2 separate regions of the Homo sapiens genome follow, and region 2 is linked to region 1. Evidence: promoter capture Hi-C in 16 types of primary human blood cells and fetal thymus (Javierre and others, 2016). All regions are on one chromosome and are shown on one strand. Each heading gives the region's core, a stretch centred on a gene start or on the middle of the fragment in contact. The rest is flanking DNA. Distances are from core to core; before and after follow the strand shown. Region 1 holds the start of RAB39B (RAB39B, member RAS oncogene family). Region 2 has its middle 66 kb from the start of VAMP7.

The links. The method cuts DNA at HindIII sites, captures the fragments that hold promoters and counts their contacts. A CHiCAGO score of 5 or more calls a contact.
Region 2: a contact is called between a fragment that was not itself captured here and the fragment with the promoter of RAB39B in region 1, in 2 of 17 cell types (monocytes and M1 macrophages). The highest score is 6.9, in monocytes.

Annotation. Positions count from the first base shown.
Region 1 is chrX:155,261,674-155,267,031 of GRCh38, forward strand. It overlaps RAB39B (RAB39B, member RAS oncogene family), which reads right to left and starts at 2,818. Exons shown (of 2, transcript NM_171998.4): 1 at 2,401-2,818. The coding sequence starts at 2,615. RefSeq lists silencers at 2,596-2,805, 2,816-2,865. The HindIII fragment of the contact is 10,241 bases long and covers 447-5,358 here.
Region 2 is chrX:155,813,422-155,818,022 of GRCh38, forward strand. No RefSeq gene overlaps it. Among named protein-coding and RNA genes, the nearest start is that of VAMP7, 66 kb to the right of the region's middle. The HindIII fragment of the contact is 1,781 bases long and covers 2,098-3,878 here.

The DNA.
Region 1 (5,358 bases), core at 1,568-4,067:
TGACGTGGAGAGTTCATTACAAATGCTAGCAGTTGAAACAGGATTTTTAAAACATAGAAATGAATTTATGATAGTTAACAAAATATTTAAAGTAGGTATCTTGCTACTCCATTTTTTCCATTTATCATTACCATGTTTTTTTCTCTTTCCATTATTATTATTGTTTATTATTATTATTATTATTATTATTAGCTAACAGGGATCCTCAATCTCTTCTGTGAGGAGAAACACAATTTTATTTTTTATTTTCAAGGCCTGTGGGAATGGGAAAAAGAGAGATGGCGAAGGGTTCAGGCAAAGTGCCTCTCAGCCCTGTTTCCTGACACATTTCAGAGAGGCCAACTCAACTCAGGAGCCATCAGAAGAAACTTCACATGTTTTAACTTCTTGACTTGAGGAACCTCATTATAAATATACATTATGGCACTTTGCTTACAGTGTATTAAAGCTTATTACAGGGTATGGACCTATTTGTCTCTGCAGTCACTTGCTTTAGACTACTGTGATTTTTTTTACCTATGTCTATTTTTAGGTTTTCTGTCTCCTCAGATAAAGAAGATAGACAACGAAGGACTCAATAGCTTAGAGAAAATGGCTCAATGTTAGCAGAACAAGCATTGTCCAGGGACCTACAGTCCAAGCTAGATGATGGTAAAAGTAAAACTTACAAATGACTTTAAGTCTCCAAAATCAGGCAAATCAGCCCTGGGGACTGAAAGCATTTCTCGTCTCTTAGGTTTGAAGATTCATGGAGAATGGTAGATTTACCAGAAAATTTAGACATGAACAAACAAAGGTTTTGATTTGTGAGAAGGTTGATTCAAGAAATCAACAAGCAAGCTGTAGATCACTGTCAAAACTCTGGAATATATTATTACATTAATTGTTTGTGAGTACTTAGCAAAGAAAGTGACAAAGGCCTTCTAAGCATGGACATAAGGCTACATAAACCTTAAATTCTTCCCTACATTAAAAAATCTTAAATAATGTGAAAAGACAGATGATAAACTAGGAATATATCTTACAACATACATGACAGGAAAGGGTTAATATTCTTAATCTATAAAGTACTCTTACAAGTCCATATTGCCCAATAAATAAATAAGCAGTGGATATGAACAGGCTGTTCATATAGAAAGAAATTCCAACAAACACATAAAAGATACCTTTCTTTGCTTAGGAGAAATGCAATCGCAAGTTCAAAGTGAACCTGTACAAGGATATTTTCCACAGTGGTGTTTGTGGAAGTGGGGAGCTGGAGGTAACTTAAGTTTGTAATTATTTCTTCTCCTTACCCCTCTTCAATTACCCAACCAGTATCTTCTATGCTTAGTTAGTTTTCAATAGATAAATGAGTAAATGATCATAAACTTGGGCTATTGAGTTTTCTTGATCTGGTTCCTGCTGCTCTACTTTAGTTCAAATTGTTCTCTGCAAAGTTTTCTGTGTACACTCTGCTCCCTCTCACTTCTGTCTTTATTCATGCTGTTTCCTATCCCTGGGCGTTTCCTGTCTTTGCTTAGGCAGTCATACTCATCCGGTCTCATCTTCTCCAGTTAACCTTTCCTCCTCTGTGTTCATACATATAATTACAAATAATACATGCTACAATAGAAAAGCAAAGGGTTCTGAGTGAAAGTAAACATATTCATTGATTATTCAATGAATTCATTGATTGAAATTAAGCATGTTCATTTTGTGCCAAGTGTTACAGTAGGGAGTGGGCATACAAATATGAGCAAGACACACTTTCGTAATTGCTGATTATCTATTTCCCTCAACTATGTTAGCACAGAAGTTCCAAGAATGAAGGGGCTTTGTCTGTTTAGATTACATGGCATCCCCTTGTGTGAGTCTCCTCACACTGTTTTCCCAGGAACAAGCCCAGAGTCTGGCACATAGTAGATGATCACTGAATGTGTGCTGGTTGCAAGAAGGAATCAATCGTATCTATTTCATGTTAGAACATATGTTAGCATATATATGTGCACACACACAGATGTGGAAATAAAACATAATACACATGTATTTATGTATTTAAATCTCTGTCAGTTATGTTAGGATGACCTGGGAACGTTTTTGAAAGTATGTAACATAGGGACTGAGATTGATGAATTACAGATACAGAGATCAATTCCAGCTAGTTTGTTAGCCACCAAAGGGCAGGTTGGTGGAGTTGTGGTGCAAGCAATATGTGTTATTGACCGGCCTTCCCTGCCAGGGCGCTTCTTTCCTTGCACTAAACTCCGGGTTAGCCGAAGGTGGGCTTCGGCAGAATCCTCAAGACCCTTGGTGTTGCCCTCCTGGACCGCACCTAGAACCAGGAAGTCCTCTCTCCCCAGAGGCGGTGCAAACCCCGAAGACCCTCCCACTGCTTGCGGGCCCGGACTGCGCTCCCACCTGAACCTCTCTTGACCCGCGGTATCCCAGATCTGGAGCTTGATGCGTTTTCCTGGCTCGATCTCCACCAAGCGGGAGAAAAAATCCACCCCCACGGTGGGGTCAGAAACCTGGGCAAAGCGACCCTCGGTGAAGCGGCGGATCAGGCAGGACTTGCCCACTGTGGAATCCCCGATGACAATGAGCCGGAACTGGTACAGCCAGATGGCCTCCATGGCCGCGGCTCTGCAGGTCTCCTTGGCCCGGACCGGGGACGGCGGGAGGGGGCGCCCCGCCGACGCCTCAGAGAGCGCGGCTCGGCAGGATCTAGCTCAGCCGCGAGCGCATCGCTGGCCTGGGAGCCCGAAGCTGGGTAGGCCCAGGCGCCGGGAGAGCGGAGGGATGGATGCTGCGCTCGCAAAGGTGATGAAATGGCAGCAGCATCAGCACCACGCACTCTGACTCATCACTGACAACCGGGTTACTGTAATCCCCCGCGTAGACGCGACGCCTGGGCCGCCGCACTATCTGTAAGAGGAGCGCACACAAAATGGCTGCAACATTAGCGCGATCCCTCCCTTTCTAACTACCCCACCCACCCTCTGTTCATTAAAACTGTTCTCTGTCGTTCAAACTGCCAATGTCATACCTTTTCATTGAAACTAGCAAAGCAATACAAAACTGCACAAAAAAGGGAAGGCACATAATTATATATTAGTCTACAAGTGTTTCCATGCTCACATAAACACACAAATATTATATGTGTTTGTATTCCTATATGCATTTATTGCTGTTTGTTTTTACAAAAATTAAACTGGGGCCTTACTTTCAATTAATAATTGCTTTTTGCAATTAATAAAGCAACATAAATATCTTTCCATTTCCACCTAATTTCCCTTTTGTCATAACTTATTTTAAAGTGTAGCCACAAGTATTTTATTTCTGTGAGCTACAGTCTTAAAAAAGGGGCCATGAATTCAAAGAGTATAAGTATTTTAAATTTAACGGACATGGGCATTCTACTTTCCAAAACTATTTAACAGTTTAAATTCTACCCAGCAATGTGTGAAAAGACCATCGCTCTGCATTATTTCAAGCATCATATGTATGTTTTATTCTTTCTTAATTCTTCTCAATAGAATTTAGTTAAATAAAAATATGTCTCATTGCTTTATTTTTACATTTCTCTGACTACTGATGAGGTCAATACCAAGTCTTGTGTATTGACCATTTCATTTCCTCTTCTGGGAATTGTCTCTTCATATCCTTTGTATTTTTTATGTGTAATTTTATTTTATTTTTTTTTTGAGACAGAGTCTCTCTCTGTCGCCCAGGCTGGAGTGCAGTGGCGCGATCTCGGCCCACTGCAACCTCTACCTCCCGGGTTCATGCCATTCTCCTGCCTCAGCCTCCCGAGTAGGTGGGACTACAGGTGCCCGCCACCACGCCCGGCTAATTTTTTGTATTTTTAGTAGAGATAAGGTTACACTGTATTAGCCAGGATGGTCTCGATCTCCTGACCTTGTGATCTGCCCGCCTCGGCCTCCCAAAGTGCTGGGATTACAGGCGTGAGCCACCGCGCCCGGCCTTCTATGTGTAATCTTTTATCGTTGCCTTACTCTTTAAAAAAAATCAGCTTCATTAACATGAAAATTCACATACTGTACAATTCACCCATTTAAAGTGAACAATTCTTAGCATAGGTTTTTAATATACTCACAGATATATACAACTATCACCACAGTTAATTTTATAACATTTTTATCACTTCAAAAAGTAACCCAGAGGGGTGGGGGGAGGGGGGAGGGATAGCATTAGGAGGGATTACATTTACCTAATGTAAATGTAAATGACGAGTTAATGGGTGCAGCACACCAACATGGCACACGTATACATATGTAACAAACCTGCACGTTCTGCACAGGTACCCTAGAACTAAAAGTATAATAAAATATGTATATATATTTTTTAAAAAAAGGAACCCAGAACCTTTTAGCTATCATCTCTCTATCCCATGTTCCTCCAGCCTTTGGCAACCATTAATGTACTTTCTGTCTCTATAAATTTCCCTATTCTGAACATTTCATATACATGAAATCATATAATATGTGCATTTTTGTGACTGGCTGCTTTCACTTAGCATAATGTTTTCAAGGTTCATTCACACTGTAGCAAGTATCAGTACTTCATTCCTTTTTGTGGCTGAATACTATTCCATCATATGGATAGACCATATCTTGTTTATCCATTCATTCATTGAGGGACATTTGGGTTGTTCCCACCTTTTGGCTATTCTAAATAATCCTACCATCGAATATTCATGTGCCAGGTTTTTTTTTTTAATATCTGTTTTCAGTTTTTTGGGATTTATACCTAAGAACGGAATTCCTCAGTCCTGTGGCAACTCTATGTTTAACCCTTTGATGAAATGCCTGACTTTTTCACAGTGGCTGTACCATATTACATCCCACTGGCAGCCTATGGGGTTCCAATTTCTCCACATTCTCTCTAACATGGATGTGAAGTGGTACTTTATTCTAGTTTGATTTGCATTTCCCTAACGACTGATGACTTCAAGCATATTTTTACATTCTTATTGGCCATTTGTGTATCTTCCTTGGAAAAATATTGACTTAGATCTTTTGCCCATTTTTAAACTGGATTACTAGTCTTTGTATTATTGAGTTATAAGAGTTCTTTATATATGCTAGACACAAGTCCTTTATCACATATATGATTTGCAAATATTTTCTCCAATTCAGTGTGTTCTTTTTTTTCACTTTCTTGAGGGTGTCCTTTGAAAAACAAAGTTAGATTTTTAAGAAGTACAATTTATCGAGTTTCTATTTTGTTGCTCATGCTTCTGGTGTCATGTCTAAGAATACTTTGCCCAATCCAAGGTCATGAAGGTTTACTCATTCTTTCTTCTAAGAGTTTTATAGTTGTAGTTCATTCATTTAGGTCTATGATCCATTTTGT
Region 2 (4,601 bases), core at 1,738-4,237, 550 kb after region 1:
GCTACCAATGACTTTCTTCACAGAATTGGAAAAAAATACTTTAAAGTTCATATGGAACCAAAAAAGAGCGCACATTGTCAACACAATCCTAAGCCAAAAGAACAAAGCTGGAGGCATCATGCTACCTGACTTCAAACTGTACTACAAGGCCACAGTAACCAAAACAGCATGGTACTGGTACCAAAACAGAGATATAGACCAATGGAACAGAACAGAGCCCTCAGAAATAACACCACACATCTACAACCATCTGATCTTTGACAAACCTGACAAAAACAAGAAATGGGGAAAGGATTCCCTGTTTAATAAATGGTGCTGGGAAAACTGGCTAGCCATATGGAGAAAGCTGAAACTGGATCCCTTCCTTACACCTTATACTAAAATTAATTCAAGATGGATTAAAGACTTAAATGTTAGACCTAAAACCATAACAACCCTAGAAGAAAACCTAGGCAATACCATTCAGGACATAGGCATGGGCAAGGACTTCATGACTAAAACACCAAAAGCAATGGCAACAAAAGCCAAAATTGACAAATGGGATCTAATTAAACTAAAGAGCTTCTGCATAGCAAAAGAAACTACCATCAGAGTGAACAGGCAACCTACAGAATGGGAGAAAATTTTTACAATCTACCCCTCTGACAAAGGGCTAATATCCAGAATCTTCAAGGAACTTAAACAAATTTACAAGAAAAATTCAAACAACCCCATCAAAAAGAGGGTGAAGGATATGAACAGACACTTCACAAAAGAAGACATTTATGCAGCCAACAGACACATGAAAAAATGCTCATCATCACTGGTCATCAGAGAAATGTGTATCAAAGCCAAAATGAGATACCATCTCACACCATTTAGAATGGCGATCATTAAAAAGTCAGGAAACAACAGGTGCTGGAGAGGATGTGGAGAAATAGGAATGCTTTTATACTGTTGGTGGGAGCCTAAACTAGTTCAACCATTGTGGAAGACAGTGTGGCAATTCCTGAAGGATTTAGGACTAGAAATACCATTTGACCCTGCGATCCCATTACTGGGTATATACCCAAAAGGTTGTAAATCATGCTACTATAAAGACACATGTACACGTATGTTTATTGTGGCACTATTCGCAATAGCAAAGACTTGGAACCAACCCAAATGTCTGTCAATGAGAGCCTCGATTAAGAAAATGTGGCACATATACACCACGGAATACTATGCAGCCATAAAAAAGGATGAGTTCATGTCCTTTGTAGCGACATGGATGAAGCTGGAAACCATCATTCTCAGCAAACTATCGCAAAGACAGAAAACCAAACACCACATGTTCTCACTCATAGGTGGGAATTGAACAATCAGAACACTTGGACACAGGGCGGGGAACATCACACACCGGGGCCTGTCGTTGGGTGGGAGCATGGGGGAGGGATAGCATTAGGAGAAATACCTAATGTAAATGATGAGTTAATAGGTGCAGCAAACCAACATGGCACATGTATACATATGTAATAAACCTGCATGTTTTGCACATGTACTCTAGAACTTAAAGTATAATAATAAAATAATAAGTAAAAAAATAAATAAAAATAAAAATAAAGAATTACTGGCCAGGCGTGGTGGCTCACACCTGTAATCCCAGCACTTTGGGAGACCGAGGTGGGCGCATCACAAAGTCAGGACATCGAGACCATCCTGGCCAACATGGTGAAACCCTGTCTCTACTAAAAATACAAAAATTAGCTGGGCGTGGTGGTGGGTGCCTGTAGTCCCAGCTACTCGGGAAGCTGAGGCAGGAGAATTGCTTGAACCCAGGAGGCAGAGGTTTCAGTGAGCGGAGATTACACCACTGCACTCCAGCCTGGGAGACAGAGTGAGACTCTGTCTCAAAAAAAAAATTACTATAAAGCTACAGTAATCAAAACAGTGTGGTTCTGGCAAAGGGATAGACAAATAGATCAATGGAGCAAAATGAGACCATAAGTATGCCCACACAATTAGGGGTCAATTGATTTTTGGCAAAGATGCAAAAGCAATTTAGTGGAGGAACAACAAATGATGTTGCAACAATGGTACATCGATATGCAAATGAGAAAACAAAACAAAAAGCCCTCAAGCTTAACCTCATACCTTATACAAAAATTAACTCAAAATAGACCATAGAAATAAAAATGTACAATGCACATTTATATGCAGAACCGTATTCTCTTATACCACTTGAATTTTTAAAGTAACAAAAGGAGAGTCGTATACATCTATATATGCTCATGAATGAGTTAATACTCTGGAAGGATAGACTTGAAACCATTAGCAATTTCCTCGTGGTTGGGAAGAGAATGAATGATTTTACTTTACATTTTATCTGTTTCTGGGATATTTCCTTCTATTAAAAAAGCATCTTTTTCTCTTATAGCAAGAAAGAAACATCTTAAAATTTTTAATTAACAAACAATAATAATAGTATACATTATACATTTATGGGGTACAATATGATGTTTTAATTTTTTTAAAAAAAATTGACAATATCAAGTGCTGGGCAACTGGGTCTGTCATACATTACTAGGGGAATAAAAAATGGTGCATCCACTCTGCAAAATGGTTTGGTAGTTTCCTACAAAGTTAAACATAGACTTACCATGTGACTCAGCAATTCCATTCCTGAGTTTCTGTCCTAGAGAAATGAAAACTTATGTCTGAACACCAATGCTTATACCTGCACTATTCATAATTGCCCCAAACTAGAAAGAATCCAAATGTCCTTCAATAAGTGAATACATGAATAAACTGTGGCACAACCACACAATGAAATACTACTCAGAATACAAAGCCCAAACTATTGATACACACAACAGTTTGGATGACTCTTAAAGACATTATGTTGCATAAAAAAGCCAGTCTCAAAAGACTGCATACTGCATTATATCATTTATATAACGTTCTGAAAAAGCAAGACTATAAAGATATAGAACACACTTTGGGAGGCCGAGGCGGGTGGATCACGAGGTCAGAAGATTGAGACCATCCCGGCTAACATGGTGAAACCCCATCTCTAATAAAAATACAAAAAAAATTAGCCAGGCATTGTGGCGGGCGCCTGTAGTCCCAGCTACTCGGGAGGCTGAGGCAGGAGAATGGCGTGAACCCGGGAGGTGGAGCTTGCAGTGAGCTGAGATCGTGCCACTGCACTCCAGCCTGGGCGAAAGAGTGAGACTCCTCTGTCTCAAAAAAAAAAAAAAAAAAAAAGATATAGAAATAGAACAGGTTGCCAGCATTTATGGGTAGGAGGAGGGATGACTATAAAGTGGTAGAATGGTAGAATGAGGAAGTTTTATGTTAAAATTATTATATGTCCTGATGTAGTAGTGATAACATGTCTCCATACATGTGTTAAAATTCATAAAACTGTACATCAAGATATTTAAAAATCAATTTTTCTGGTGATTTAAAATAATATTAAAAATATTTTAGGTTAAAATCCATTTTTAATGTTAAGTGATAAAAAGTCCACTGCTTTTCTTGCTACACCAGAAATTGAAAACACAAGTTATTTCCAGAGGTCAAACAGGTAAAATAACTGTAAGTTTTCCAGGTATAAGAAAATAGGGAATGGTAAAGACTGTGTTTGAATTATAGTGTGTGTCCTAACCGAAGACATTCAAAACCAATTAAAAACAAAGAAGCAAGACTGTGTGTACACACACACATGCACACACACACACTCTGAAGCCCCCCACACTGTATGTTGTTTTTAGATTATTTTATGTAATCATATAACTTCAACTACCATGTGAATTTTCTTTTAATGACTGCTACCCAGATCTTACCTTGAAGTTCAAACGTATTATCCTCACATGCCTTCTGGATATCTCCAACTATATTTTTCATTGGTATTTAAAAGCTTAACATGACCAAAAATGAAGTAAACTGTATGGCCATCTTTTGGGCCTGAGAAACAGTCCCATAGGCTATGCCCAGTCTGAGGCTGGTAAGCAACCATGGGTTCATGCCCCCAGCTGGAGAAACAACCCTGTAGCTCCATCCCCAGGGAGTCAGACTCTAAGTTGGCTGACCCGCCATGTGCACACCTCACCACTGACCTGAGAAACAGCCTGATGAGCTGTTTCTAAAAAAGCAAAGCCACACCAGTACTGCCAGTACAAACTCTCTTAGCCTAGACCAATGAGACCCTTGCAAACATCACCGGTGTGGATTACAGCTAAAGAAACTACATGGAGACTATATTACTGCATCCACCCAGAACCAACCCAACACACCCCACTGACCTGATCTATATGAATAAGATTATATCTTATTCAAGACCTCAAGACTCATCTATATGAATATATCTTTCCCTACAAAACCTACTCCATAAAATTGGAAGAGGTGACTTTTCCACCAGATGTGTACAAATTGACATAGGGACACATCAAACATGAAAAAGCATAGAAACATGACACCTCCAAGGGAACATAATAATTCTCCAGTAACAGACCCCAATCATAAGGAAATATATAAAATGTCAGAAAAAAATTCAAAATAATAATCTTAAGAAACCTCAATGAGATATAAGAGAATACAGGTAGACAATACAAAAAATCAGGAAAATAATTCATGTCTTG